Regions from separate parts of the Homo sapiens genome. Here regions 2 and 3 are each linked to region 1. The links are contacts of gene promoters, found by promoter capture Hi-C in human tissues and cell types (Jung and others, 2019). All regions are on one chromosome and are shown on one strand. The core of a region is centred on a gene start or on the middle of the fragment in contact, and the rest is flanking DNA. Distances in the headings are between cores, read along the strand shown.

What was found. Contacts are between HindIII fragments. The study calls those that stand out against the background at their distance.
Region 2: a fragment that was not itself captured here is called in contact with the fragment with the promoter of SLC25A46 in region 1 in 1 of the 25 tissues and cell types used here (dorsolateral prefrontal cortex).
Region 3: a contact is called between a fragment that was not itself captured here and the fragment with the promoter of SLC25A46 in region 1, in 1 of the 25 tissues and cell types used here (mesenchymal stem cells).

Annotation. Positions count from the first base shown.
Region 1 is chr5:110,737,029-110,741,144 of GRCh38, reverse strand. SLC25A46 (solute carrier family 25 member 46) reads right to left here and starts at 2,138. Exons shown (of 8, transcript NM_138773.4): 1 at 1,743-2,138. The coding sequence starts at 2,025. It also overlaps a transcript of TMEM232 not described here. RefSeq lists enhancers at 1-299, 300-801, 2,046-2,115, 2,126-2,255, 2,506-2,555. The HindIII fragment of the contact is 7,779 bases long and covers 1-4,116 here.
Region 2 is chr5:109,843,525-109,847,640 of GRCh38, reverse strand. MAN2A1 (mannosidase alpha class 2A member 1) reads right to left here. Exons shown (of 22, transcript NM_002372.4): 18 at 1,635-1,776. Among named protein-coding and RNA genes, the nearest start is that of LINC01848, 38 kb to the left of the region's middle. The HindIII fragment of the contact is 5,832 bases long and covers 1-4,116 here.
Region 3 is chr5:111,254,017-111,258,132 of GRCh38, reverse strand. All of the region lies in intron 1 of CAMK4 (calcium/calmodulin dependent protein kinase IV), which reads right to left. Among named protein-coding and RNA genes, the nearest start is that of CAMK4, 32 kb to the right of the region's middle. RefSeq lists enhancers at 2,945-2,994, 3,155-3,424, 3,645-3,734. The HindIII fragment of the contact is 7,063 bases long and covers 1-4,116 here.

The DNA of each region.
Region 1 (4,116 bases), core at 889-3,388:
TTCTTTCTCTCCTCTTCTCTTTCAAGTGAAGCAACTGCCCTCACTATTCCCTTTCAATCAGAACAAGGCCACCTAAGCATGTTCCTGGGAAATTACGCAGTTTACCCTAGAAAAATGTATAAGCTAAATAGAAAGCTTCTTTTACCCACCTACGGTACTTTTACCTTAGATTTTACCTTTTTTTGTTTGTTTTGAGACGGAGTCTCGCTCTGTCGCCCAGGCTGGAGTGCAGTGACGCGATCTCGGCTCACTGCAAGCTCCGCCTCCCGGGTTCACGCCATTCTCCTGCCTCAGCCTCCCGAGTAGCTGGGACTACAGGCATCCGCCACCACGCCCGGCTAATTTTTTCTATTTTTTAGTGGAGACGGGGTTTCATCGTGTTAGCCAGGATGGTCTCGATCTCCTGACCTCGTGATCCGCCCGCCTTGGCCTCCCAAAGTGCTAGGATTACAGGCGTGAGCCACCACGCCCGGCCTTACCCATTTTGTATGTATAGATCATCCCCAAATAGCAACAGAAAATGCTACTAGCATTTTCTGGAAGGTGTTAGGAAGGTTTAATCTTGTTTACTGTGTAAGTCTCTTAGGTGTCTATCTTTGTTGCAAAATTAACATTCACCCACCTGTTAAGGCTGCAAAATAAACCCCTGCTTGTGTCAAGGAACTCCTCCTCATTGTAACCACCAAAGCATAACTTTAAACCGGGAAGAGTCAAAAAGCTAATTGTATGACAATTAGCTAGGTAAGTCATCTATCTTTCTTCACATCCTCATTTACTCACTAGACATTCGTTAGTCTGTTCTTCTTAGTTAAATATTATTGTACTTCCAAGTCAAAGTCGAGGAAATAAGAATAAAGCTGATTTCTACAATAAATTTAATATTAATACCATTAATCTATTATTCTAACAATTCCAGAAGAATAGAAAGAGGTAGCCATTATTCACATTTTATGAATAAAAAAGGATGTTGAAAATATCTACATCATGCAGTGTTGCAGCTTTTCTGACATCCCATGGAGAATAATTATGTCATGATTCCGAAGTCCTATCTTGAAATTGTATCAGTGTTTCTAACTTTTATATGTAGTTTTTAGGTCAGCAGAAGGAAAGCAGAAAGGAAAATTATAGGAAGGAAACTTTCTAGACTGGGGATCTGAAAAGCAGACAAAACTCCTGTGTTCAAAAAGGAAAAGGAAGGAAACTTTTTTTTTTTAGCCTATGTGTCCCATACAGGATTCTTCTACACATCTTAAAGATGAGAAAACTGAGGGCTCACAGAGGTTAAGTTGTTCAGATTACGAGTGGCACAACCAAGTTTGAACCCAAGTATGCTTATGCTGAAAGGCTTCTCTTTTCAGAACACAAAACTACAAGTAAACACATTAATTAATTAATTAAATCAAGAAAATAGAGCTGCCAAAGTGAATCAGGGAACAGTTAATAATCCAATCTCCTTTTTAACTCAGACCATCAGTTGAGACACCAAAACCTCTAAAAATTCCTGCTATGCACCCCATAGCTAAGGCAGATGTCTTTTTTGGAGTTGATCCAGGAGAATTCGTTTGTGAGGAAGAGGAGGCCAGCCTCAGGGGCAGAGGACCAAAGGAGGGCAAAGGGTGTGGCGCGCGATAGGATGAGAAGGAATAGGAGGCGGGATCCTCTGCGCCGCTTCCGGGGTCTGCAGGCCGCAAGCCGCGGCCCCAGTAACCCCTCATCCCTGTGTCGGTCCCCATGCTTCTCACCACTGCTCTGCCCCTGCACACTGCCGCCGCCGCCACTGGAAAAGGGTTCCTCCGTGGGGCCTTCGTACGGGGTGGAGGTGGTGGGCACGCCGTAGGGCGGGCTCTTCTCGCCCCAGTGCAGGTTGCGGCTGCCGGGGATATCTGGGGGAGTCGTCACCCAGTGGCCCAGGTCCGACCCGGTGCTGAAGGACCTTGCAGGGAAGGCGCCGCCAAAGCCCTGCTCGTCCCGGGCACCACCCCGGTAGCCCAAGCCATCAAATCCGTCCGGGCGCCGCGGATGCATCGCAGCGGGGGCAGGATGACGCGAGCCCGCCCGGAGCCCACCACCACCGGGGCCACCACGACCTAAGCACACACAGCTTCCCGTCGGCCGCCGCCGCGTCAGGGGTAAATTCTGACAACCGGAAGTCACGTTGGAAACCCGGAAGTCTTCGGAGCACGTGATTATAGCCTCTTCCGGCAACCATTAAAGGGCACGGTTGCTAGGGAGACGCGGCGGTAACCTGGACCTTAAAAGTTTGTTGTCGTTAGGGAATAGGTGGGAATATGGTTGTGGGATTAATGAAACACAGTACCAAAGAGATTCCAGAAAGAGAACTGGTGTAGGAATAGGGCCTGCATGGGAGGAGTTCAAAGATGCTTCTTGGAGGGAGCCGATAACCCGCGGGTGGAGCCTACCCGGTGAGATCCCGGCCAGAAATACCCCATGTCACAGCTACGCCCCAGATCTCAGTGTTTTCTCACGGGCCTGGTGCCTCGCCTGCTCCGAGGAAGCTAGTAGAGGTTGGAGTTGTGGAGGGTTAATAACGTTCCACCTAGCTTTGTCTCCCGCACTTGGGGTTTTGGATCAAATCTATTGAGAGATATGGTACCGCCCAGTGAACGCGAAAGTACTGTGGACCACCAGAGCAAGCATTTTAAAAGTTGAAGTGCACGTCGGGGGTGAAAGAAACCCACGTACTCGAATACTGTCCTCCTGGAGTTAGAAATTACGCGTTTTCCTTTTCTAAGGCTGTAAAGAAACTATAGTTTTCTGTCGTATTTTTTTCTGATGTGTCTAAATCACTCAGGGTATTGAAATCCCAGTTATATCGTTCAAAATTGGGACCTCTAATTGAATAACTGAGAGGACTACTGTAGAGCGTCCCCTACTACCTGTTTTCATTAGCTCCACGGGCTCTTGGGCCAGGCTCCCTCCCCAGATCTGAGGAAGACTTCCATGGTTTCATCCTATGTTCCTTCAACTCGTTGGAAGCCCAGGATTCCTAGAGCTTTTCCAAGAGAACTCTGACGTGCAGTTCTCGATCTTCCAGATGCGAACCTTGATTGAGAGTGATAATCAACTTTGTTTTGATTGAACTGACATTTTTTTCTGTGGTTTTATCACTTTTTATTTTTTATGGGTGTATAGTAGGTGTATATATTTATGGGTTACATGAGATATTTTGATAGCGTACATTAAAATGTATAATTAACATTTTTAAATAACGAATTGACATTCTTAAATTTGATTGCGATGCAGCTTGGGCAAAGGTGTTGAGTCTCTTGACTGTATAAAATTTAAATGTCCATATAGTAAATTTTAAAATATATAGTAATCACAATTGAAAGGCAAATCACAAACAGAAAAATGACATTTTAACATGGTTTAAACAATGGAACAGTAGCTTTAATGTACAAAGAGTTCATACCAATGAATAAAGGCAAATCAGAAATATGAGCAAAGGACATGTAGAGGCAATTCATACAAAAAAAGGAAGTGTAAATAGATAATATCATATAAAAAGTCCTTTACTAATTGAAAAAAGGTAAATCTTAATTATCTTTCACGTATTAAGGTGTTTAAAAGGGAAAATGCACATTGTCTTTCCAGGTGAGAAGAAAGTAGCTTTCATTAATTTCTGAAGTGATATAAAACATAACTTTCTGATGGAGAGCAGTTTGGCACTATGTATCAAAAACTGTAAAAATAACCATATTTTTTGACTCCAAAATCTTAGAAAACAAATATAGGGGTTTTTTACATGTTTCTGGCATGGATAACATACATATGTTTATGGCATGCTTGCTCATAATAGGAAAAAAATAAGCAGGAATGCAAATATCAAATAATTATTATTGATTAATAATTTATTATTTAAAGTGTATATCCATACAGTTGTTTAACAAAAATATATTTATTAAGCACCTATCTCGTGTCAGATACTATTTTAAGCAATAAGGATAGAATGATAAATAAGCCAGACAAGGTGCTTGCATTGTTAGAACTGACATTCTAGTTTAGGGAGACAAAGAACAGATAAATATATCCTGTCAAATATAGTGCAATGTCAAATAATGACATGATTGTATTAAAAAAGCCTAAGTGAGCAAT
Region 2 (4,116 bases), core at 1,063-3,562, 890 kb after region 1:
CAAACAAGCAAAACTGACCAGAATAATTTAATACTGACATTCATTGAGCATCACTTAAGTAGCAGTCATGATGTATTGCTCTAAATTTCCTCTCTAGTCAAGGAGGTGGATTTATACAACCCACTACACCATGGGCTTTCTCTTGATAGTAGCTCAAAGTAGCTACTACAAATTCATAAAACAGGATAGTATTTCTGTGTTTCTTTAGTAATGTTTCACAATATCTGATAAGAAATTTAAAAGTGAGACAGGACAGATCAAAATTTAAATGAAACTTTTTTTCCAAAACATTAACCTAAAGAGTAAATTAAGTTCTCCGAAACTTTTAGTAGCACCATTTGGAATCAAAAATGCTTATGAGGTTTATTAGGAAATGTACATCACATTTCCAGGAAGTGAGATAATGCTGCTTTGTTAACCACGGCTTGAGTCTTACTGTCTAGTCCTCTATTTAGGGCACAGCTTTGAGAATTTAAGGCAGTGTTTAAAAATGAGTGGCTCAAGAGTCATGTACGGCACAAAGATGTTTTATGTTTTCTCAACATAGTGTTTTTTAAAAAATTGTATCAATATTTTACAGATTGAACAACTTCACGTAAAATTCCAGACTTCTGGACTCTTCTTCAAAAAAAAATTGAATTTAGCAACACTGGGCCCCTAACCACACAGCAACAATGCTGCCCCACTGCACATCGGGAACATGCTCTTCAGTTTGCTCAAGTCTCTAACCCTCCCTACTGGATCCCTGATGTGGAACCATTACTACTTTCAAAATCGAATTCATGTCTTTATGGCATGAGTTTATATGATCTTATCTAATGAAGGCCACAAAGAAAAATGAGAAGTAGCAGTTTTTGTGTGTGTGTGTAAGATACAGAATGCATGTATACGCCTCATGTAAAAAGTGGGCTTGTGTCAAAGGACACACCAGGAATCTGCACTCAGTTATTATCTGGCTCCTTCAGATATGTATCTCTACCAACTCTTAGAATGTAAGAAGACCAATGATACCATGTATGATAACCAATTAAAAATATGTATTATAAAGGATCAAAGCCTCTCAATAGAAAGACTTGCAAAAATTAATCAGTGTCTATTGACTATTTTCTCTCACTTTCTGCGCATCACTTTCTCTCTTTTGGAATCCTCAAAGCCACACCTCTTTATCCCCATATCTCTATCATTTCTACTCCCTTCCTTCTTTCAGGTGGTAGCAGAATAGAAAGACCATGATTCAGAAAAGGACCTAAGTTTGAACCACAACTTCCCAACTTTGCAAACGTAGGCAACTTATCTAAACCTCTGAATCTGAGTTTCCACATCCGTTAAATCATAATGATGATGGAGACCTCTGCAAAATACATACTATTAGGAGAAGCAAATTATCTTTAAAAAGAAATCTTGACATGGAATTTTAGGTCTCCTGTTCTTCATCTGAAGATTTAGGAGATTCATCTTTTTATGTTGTTCTCACAAAACCCAAACTTAACTAATAGTCTGGTTGTTGAAAGAAAAAAGCTGAAAAGAAGACAGGGAGGTTTTAACTAGAGATTATACCACATCTGACCAACAGAAAAAGTATACAGTTGGAATTGAAACCTTTCAGAGTGGAAAAGAGTGTAAGCAATACATACCACTATTCAAACTCGAAACCCCTAATGACTGAGCAGAGAGCAGTGTCAAACGATGTTTGGCATCCTGGATATAGGCCATTGTGGTCATGGGATAGACATTTGCTTGAAGAGGCAATTTGCTCAGTGTCATTCTAGGTTGAATCTATAAAACACAACAATTCCATCTACAAAAAGTGATATTTACATATGTTCTTTTAAAAACTTGAGGACAGGTGATTTTTCTTCCCAAGAGAAAAAGACAAAGCTTCCTTTTTATTCAGTGGAAGAAATAATTTAAAAATTAAAACATTATTTAAAACAATATGAAGAAAAACCACAAGGATATTAGAAAACAACTTTTAGGTGGGAAAGGTAGAACTTGTCCAGATTTTTAAAATAGGCATTCCTATTTAAATTCAGAATAAAAATGCTTAAAAGTCTTCTAGCTCTCCAATATTTGCATAAAACAAATTATAAAGGTATTAAGTATTCATTTCTCATCTAAATCTAACAAACTGCTTTTGTAATGAATGCTAAGTATAATACCTCTCTATCCCCTTTCAAGAAATATCTCTTATTATTCTTGAATTGGTTTTAATAAATACCACAGGTCTCTGCACCAAATCTTCTAAGATATTATGTTAAAATCAAATGCATATTTATATTTAAAAACCATTCAGTGCTTACTCTTTTTGATTAGTTTCAATGTAGATAGTTCCAAATTCCAATTCCTTGCAGCCTAGTACCTGAATGTTTGAAATATGACTCTACTTTTTGAGAAAGACTGTCGGTAACCCCAAAGCCCATCTGGGTCACAGTGACTGACTCTAAGCTCAGAACCCTATTATCAGTGAATCTTAATGATACCACATAAAAATGTCATCTCCTCATTTAAACTCATGAAAGTTGGATATAAAAGTGAAGAAAAGAAGAGGTACAAAGTTACCGTAATAGTTAACATGTATTAAGTGCCCATTAACGAAAGGCATGGTCCGGAGTATTTCACAAATGTGATCTTTAATCTTCCCAGCAACCCTGCAATGTCTCCCTCAAATTACTGGTTGTACTAGGTTGAATAATGCCTCCCTCTCTCAAATTCCTGTCCACCCACAACCCATGAATGTGATCTTATTTTGAAATACAGCCTCTGCAGAAATAGATGAGGTCATTCTGGATTATGTTGGGACCTAACCTAATGACTGGCATCTTTACAAGAAGAGAGAAATTTGGACACAGACAGACAGATACAAGAGGCATAGGGAGAACGCTGTATGACAAAAGAGGTAGAGATGGGAGTGATGCATACACAAACCAAGGAATGCCAAGCATAGGCAACCACTAGAAGCTGGGAAAGGGCAAGGAAGGTTATTTCCCTATAGCTTTTGGAGGGAATATGGCCCTGCCAACACCCTGATGTTAGAAATCTAGTCTCCAGAACTGTGAAAGAATAAAGTTTTGTTGTTTTACGTGATTCCATTTGTATGGCAGCCTTGGGAAATTAATAAACTGATAAAGCTACAACTGTAAAATGTTTAAAGAAAAAAAAAAAAGTAAAGCTACCTTAAAAGAATTCTCTATTTCTCCTTTCCAAACCCAATTAACTTGTAAATGTAAACTTATTTTAAAAAATGTAAAACTACCACAATCGTGTTGTTGCTACCCCGATTCCCCACTGGTGGAGCTAGATACCTAGTTTTGCCCAAGTACTACTATATCCAAAGCTTAAAAAATGGTCAATTTTAAAAGCAGAAATATTACAGACTTAAAAGTAATATTTTCTTTTTTAGTCAAACGTTCCATCCTCAAAAAGAAAATTCACATTTTTAGTTATTCGGTTTTACTAAGTTTCTCATTCATGTCTACACCCAAAAATACAAATAACTGGTTTTGTATAATTTTAAGAAAATACTTTCTTTTGTACATAAAAAAATGAATCACCATGAAGTTGAGATTTTATCTGGAATCCAAATGGCTGTAGTCGAATTAACATGCTAATTCAGAATGTATGCTGCAATTTTTATGTTTTGGAAAAAGTTTAAATTTAACTTTTGCAGGAAATCATAGAAGAGAAAATTATTAAAATCTTTTTCACCCACCCCCAGTTGAAAATCAAAGTGTTTATTGTAAAATTATTTCTATTCACAGCCAGAAATTTCTAAAACACTTGTTTTAAAAACATGCTCATGGTTTTAATGGTATTTCAAAGATATGTTATCAAACACATACACTCAGAAAACAGAGATTTAGGTAACAATCAAAAGTGCTCTATTAAATTGGAGAATTGACAACCTGATAAGATTGTATAAATCAATTTCCTTACTACAATTTGAAACATTTCATGAAAATTTTGATTAAATATATACCTGCCCATTTCTGAATAGATATACCTATGTATATGTATACATGTGTGTCTGTGTATGTATAATGGTATACACACACACACATATAGAGGAAGAGTTTTCCTGAAATTTACAAGGGCCCATTATTAGATCATACATTAAAC
Region 3 (4,116 bases), core at 539-3,038, 520 kb before region 1:
GTGGGTTTGTTACATAGGTAAACATGTACCATGGTGGTTTGCTGCACCTATCAGCTTATCACCTAGGTGTTAAGCCTGCATGCATTAACTATTTATCCTGATACTCTCCCTCCCCCGACACCCTCCCCGTGCTAGGCCCCAGTGTGTGTTGTTCCCCTGAGATGGTATCTCATTGTCCATGTGTTCTCAATGTTCAGCTCCCACATGAGTGAGAACGTGCAGTGTTTGGTTTTTCTGTTTCTGTGTTAGTTTGCTTAGGATAATGGCTTCCAGGTCCATCCATGTCCTGCGAAGGACATGATCTTGTTCCTTTTTATGGCTGCATAGTATTCCTTGGTATATATGTACCACATTTTCTTTAGCCAGTCTATCACTGATGGGCATCTGGGTTGATTCCATGTCTTTGCTACTGTGAATAGTGCTGCAATGAATATACGTGTGCATGTATCTTTCTAACAGAATGATTTATATTCCTTTGGGTATATATCCAGTAATGGGATTTCTGAGTCTAATGGTATTTCTGGTTGCAGGTCTTTGAGGAATTGCCACACTGTCTTCCACAATGGTTGAACCAATTTACATTCCCACCAACAGTGTAAAAGCATTCCTATTTCTCCACAGCCTCACCAGCATCTGTTGTTTCTTGACTTTTTAATAACTGTCATTCTGACTGGTGTGAGATGATATCTCAATGTGGTCTTGAACTGCATTTATCTAATGATCAGTGATATTGAGCTTTTTAAAATATGTTTGTCACCACTAAATGTCTTCTTTTCAGAAGTGTCTGTTCATGTCCTTCGCCCACTTTTTAATGGGGTTGTTTTTTTCTTGTAAATTTGTTTAAGTTCCTTGTACATTGTGGATATTAGACCTTTGTCAGGTGGATAGATGGTAAAAATTTTCTTCCATTCTGTAGGTTGTCTGTTCACTCTGATAACAGATTCTTTTGCTGTGTAGAAGATCTTTAGTTTAATTAGATCCCATTTGTCAATCTTTGCTTTTGTTGCAACTGCTTTTGATGTTTTTGTCATGAAATCTTTGCCCATGCCTATGTCCTGAATAGTATCACCTAGATTTTCTTCTAGGGTTTTTACAGTTTTGGGTTTTACATTTAAGTCTTTAATCCATCTTGAGTTAATTTTTGTATAAGGTGTAAAGAAAAGATCCAGTTTCAATTTTCTGCTTAAAAGCCATGTCTATTTTTTTAACGGATTTGTCTGAAGGACTGCTGGAATGTTGCTGGCATGACTCTTACTGTCCAAAGTGGTAAACTTTCAAAATACAGAAGACCAAAGATACTGTTGTGAGCAATGAATATCACTTTACAAGTGTGCCCATGGTAGTTAATACATTTTCAAAAATAATAAGCTGCTGCCAAGATTAGAAGCTATAAACAGCTTTAAAAAAAGACTTGGGCTGCCACATTATTCTGGTACTTATGTGTGAATACTATATGTCTTTTCTAGCTCTGAGAGTCAATTACTGCATTTATTACCGATATTGATTGGTAAGAAAAGGCTCATTTTTATTAGGGCTCTCTAAAACTATTGGCCCATTTCAAATAAAATATTTTGAAATAATTCTAGATTCACAAGAAGTCTCAAAACTAGTATAAAGAAGTCCTACATGCCCTTCACTCAGTTCCCCCAAAGGTTATATTTTACATAATCATAGTAATATTAAAACCAGGAAACTGACATTTGTGCAATGTGTGTGTGTAACTCTATGCCATTTTCTCACATGTTGATTAATCTGACCACCAACACAACCAAGATACAAAACTATTACATCCCCACAATAGTATCACTCATGTTCCTCTTTGTGATCACACCCAATTCCACCCCACCATAGCACCACCATACCTAATCCCTGGCAACGACTAATTTGTTCTCTACCTCTATAATTTGGTCATTTTGAAAGTGTTATATAAGCAGAATCACACCTTTTGAGATTGGCTTTTTTCACTAACATATGGCCCTTGAGTCCATCCAAGTTATTTCATGTACCAATCATTTTTTGCTTTTTATTACTGAGTAGCAGCCATGGTATGGATGTAAGACAGGATCATTTTTGTGAGATATCCAGTTGAATTCTGTGATCGATTAGTCTATATCAAAATACATACAGCTATATATATGTGTGTGTGTATGCATTCTAAATATAAGGAAACTGACCTTGGGGAAATGTTTTTAATCTTTACATCATTAGCCTTAAAAACAGTTAATTTCCAATAACACTATTGATTCAACCCATTACTCACATATCCAAAAATACACTGGGAGAAGTTGGCATTTTAAGCGGTATAAAACAGTGGTGAGCAGGAAATGGGCATTTAATTAGAACATCATCAGAGACTCCAAATAGCCATAAAATGATGATACAATGAATCCATAAATGCAAAGCTTCTGAGACTACAAAGACAAATAATGGAGGCTTTGCAAGAATGGTCTGGGGCTTCGGGTATGCAAACACACAATTCAGCTGCTGTTTCCATTCCCGAGACAGGCTCAGCTAAGGTTGTGACAAAATCATGACTCTAAAAGTCAGCAATAAAGATCTTAGGGAACTTTAGATCATGGCTTTTTTAAAGCTTCACTGAATTTACACAAACTCTGACCTAGCTGAAGTTGTCAGCAAAGATAAACAGTTCGGTAAACTCTACAAAGAAATGTACAGAAAAATCAGAAAATCAGCCTACTACACACAAAAATAAACTTGCTGGGCATGAATCCAAGAAAACCCACTCAGATTATCATAAAGATCACTGAAAACACTTTCTGTTTGTAAGGAGAAATATAATTGCTTGATACTTGGGAAGAGTTTTTCCATTCATAGCTCACCAAAGTGAGCAGATCCAATGGAAGTGATGATGGCACAGGATGGGCAGACCAAAGTTATTTATAAGGCTCAGGAACCAGGGCTTCATGGCCATCAACAGTAGTTCAGACAACATGCAACTACAAAATTAGACCTTCAAACAATGTCCATCAGAAATGTACTTCAATTACACCAGGGAATTTTGATACACAGCCCAGTTTAAACACCACATAAAACCATTCTTTTTTTTTTTTAAGTACTAAGTAAAAGTTGGACAAAGTATAGCTTTAGGAGTACTGGGATTTTGTTGGGTTCTTTTTTCATCAATGAGCTCACTGTGATGCTACTGCCATGAGGTGCTTCACATTTCCCCCCAGCATCTGATGTGGGCCTCATCACAGTATTTGCACAGACTACAGAAACAGCTCCTCCAAACCACAAAAGTCCCCAGGGAAATCCCGAGAACCTGACTGCAGTACCCTTTTTACCCAATGATCCACACATACTTGGCTAGTTTCATTTTTATCACCATCACTCACAGAAAGGCAGGTGCCTAATGATGTAGAGCGGTGTGCATGATGCATTGATGGGGGATTAGCAGAAACAACTCCTTCGCCTGGGGGAGCTGGCAATCAGGTGGAAATGTACATACTCAGGAGTAGATGGGATGTGCAGGAAGATTTCTGTGAATGCTGAGAGAAACTGACCCCTTGGTTCTTCAGTTTCCTTCTCAATATGTTAATTTCTTCACATTCTGCATGAACATCATCTCTGACACACTTTAAAACTTGTATTTTGATATTAATATTAGTTTCTGGCATTACAGAGTGTGAAGGCATTAAATGAGGTTAGCAGGTCTGTTCCCTGTGTTTTACAAGGGTGTCAACCCTCTCCACCTCCAGGAAGGGATTCTGTGCAGACATCTGGGATCATCTCACAGCGCACACTGCCATGGCCACGTGGCAGCAATCTCTGCCAGCCTCCCAGAGGGTCTTGTCCACAGTGACTTCCCTTTGGGTGTCAGTGCCCCCTACCCTAAATTCATTTCCTGTCAGTTTCTGTCTTTGTAACAAACTTATAGACATTAATGAAGCAGGAGCAGAGCTGGTTATACCCTAGAAGGCAGAACAAAGGCCCTTGCCCTCAAGTTCCAAAACAGACCTTTTAAGAGTAAAATTTGAGTCACTTCCACATCCATGTGCGGGAATAATCAAGACAATGATAATTTATTCTGAGCTTCTATTTTTCATAAACCAGATTCAATATTCAGATCTTAAACTATGGTAGTTTTACCAGAGT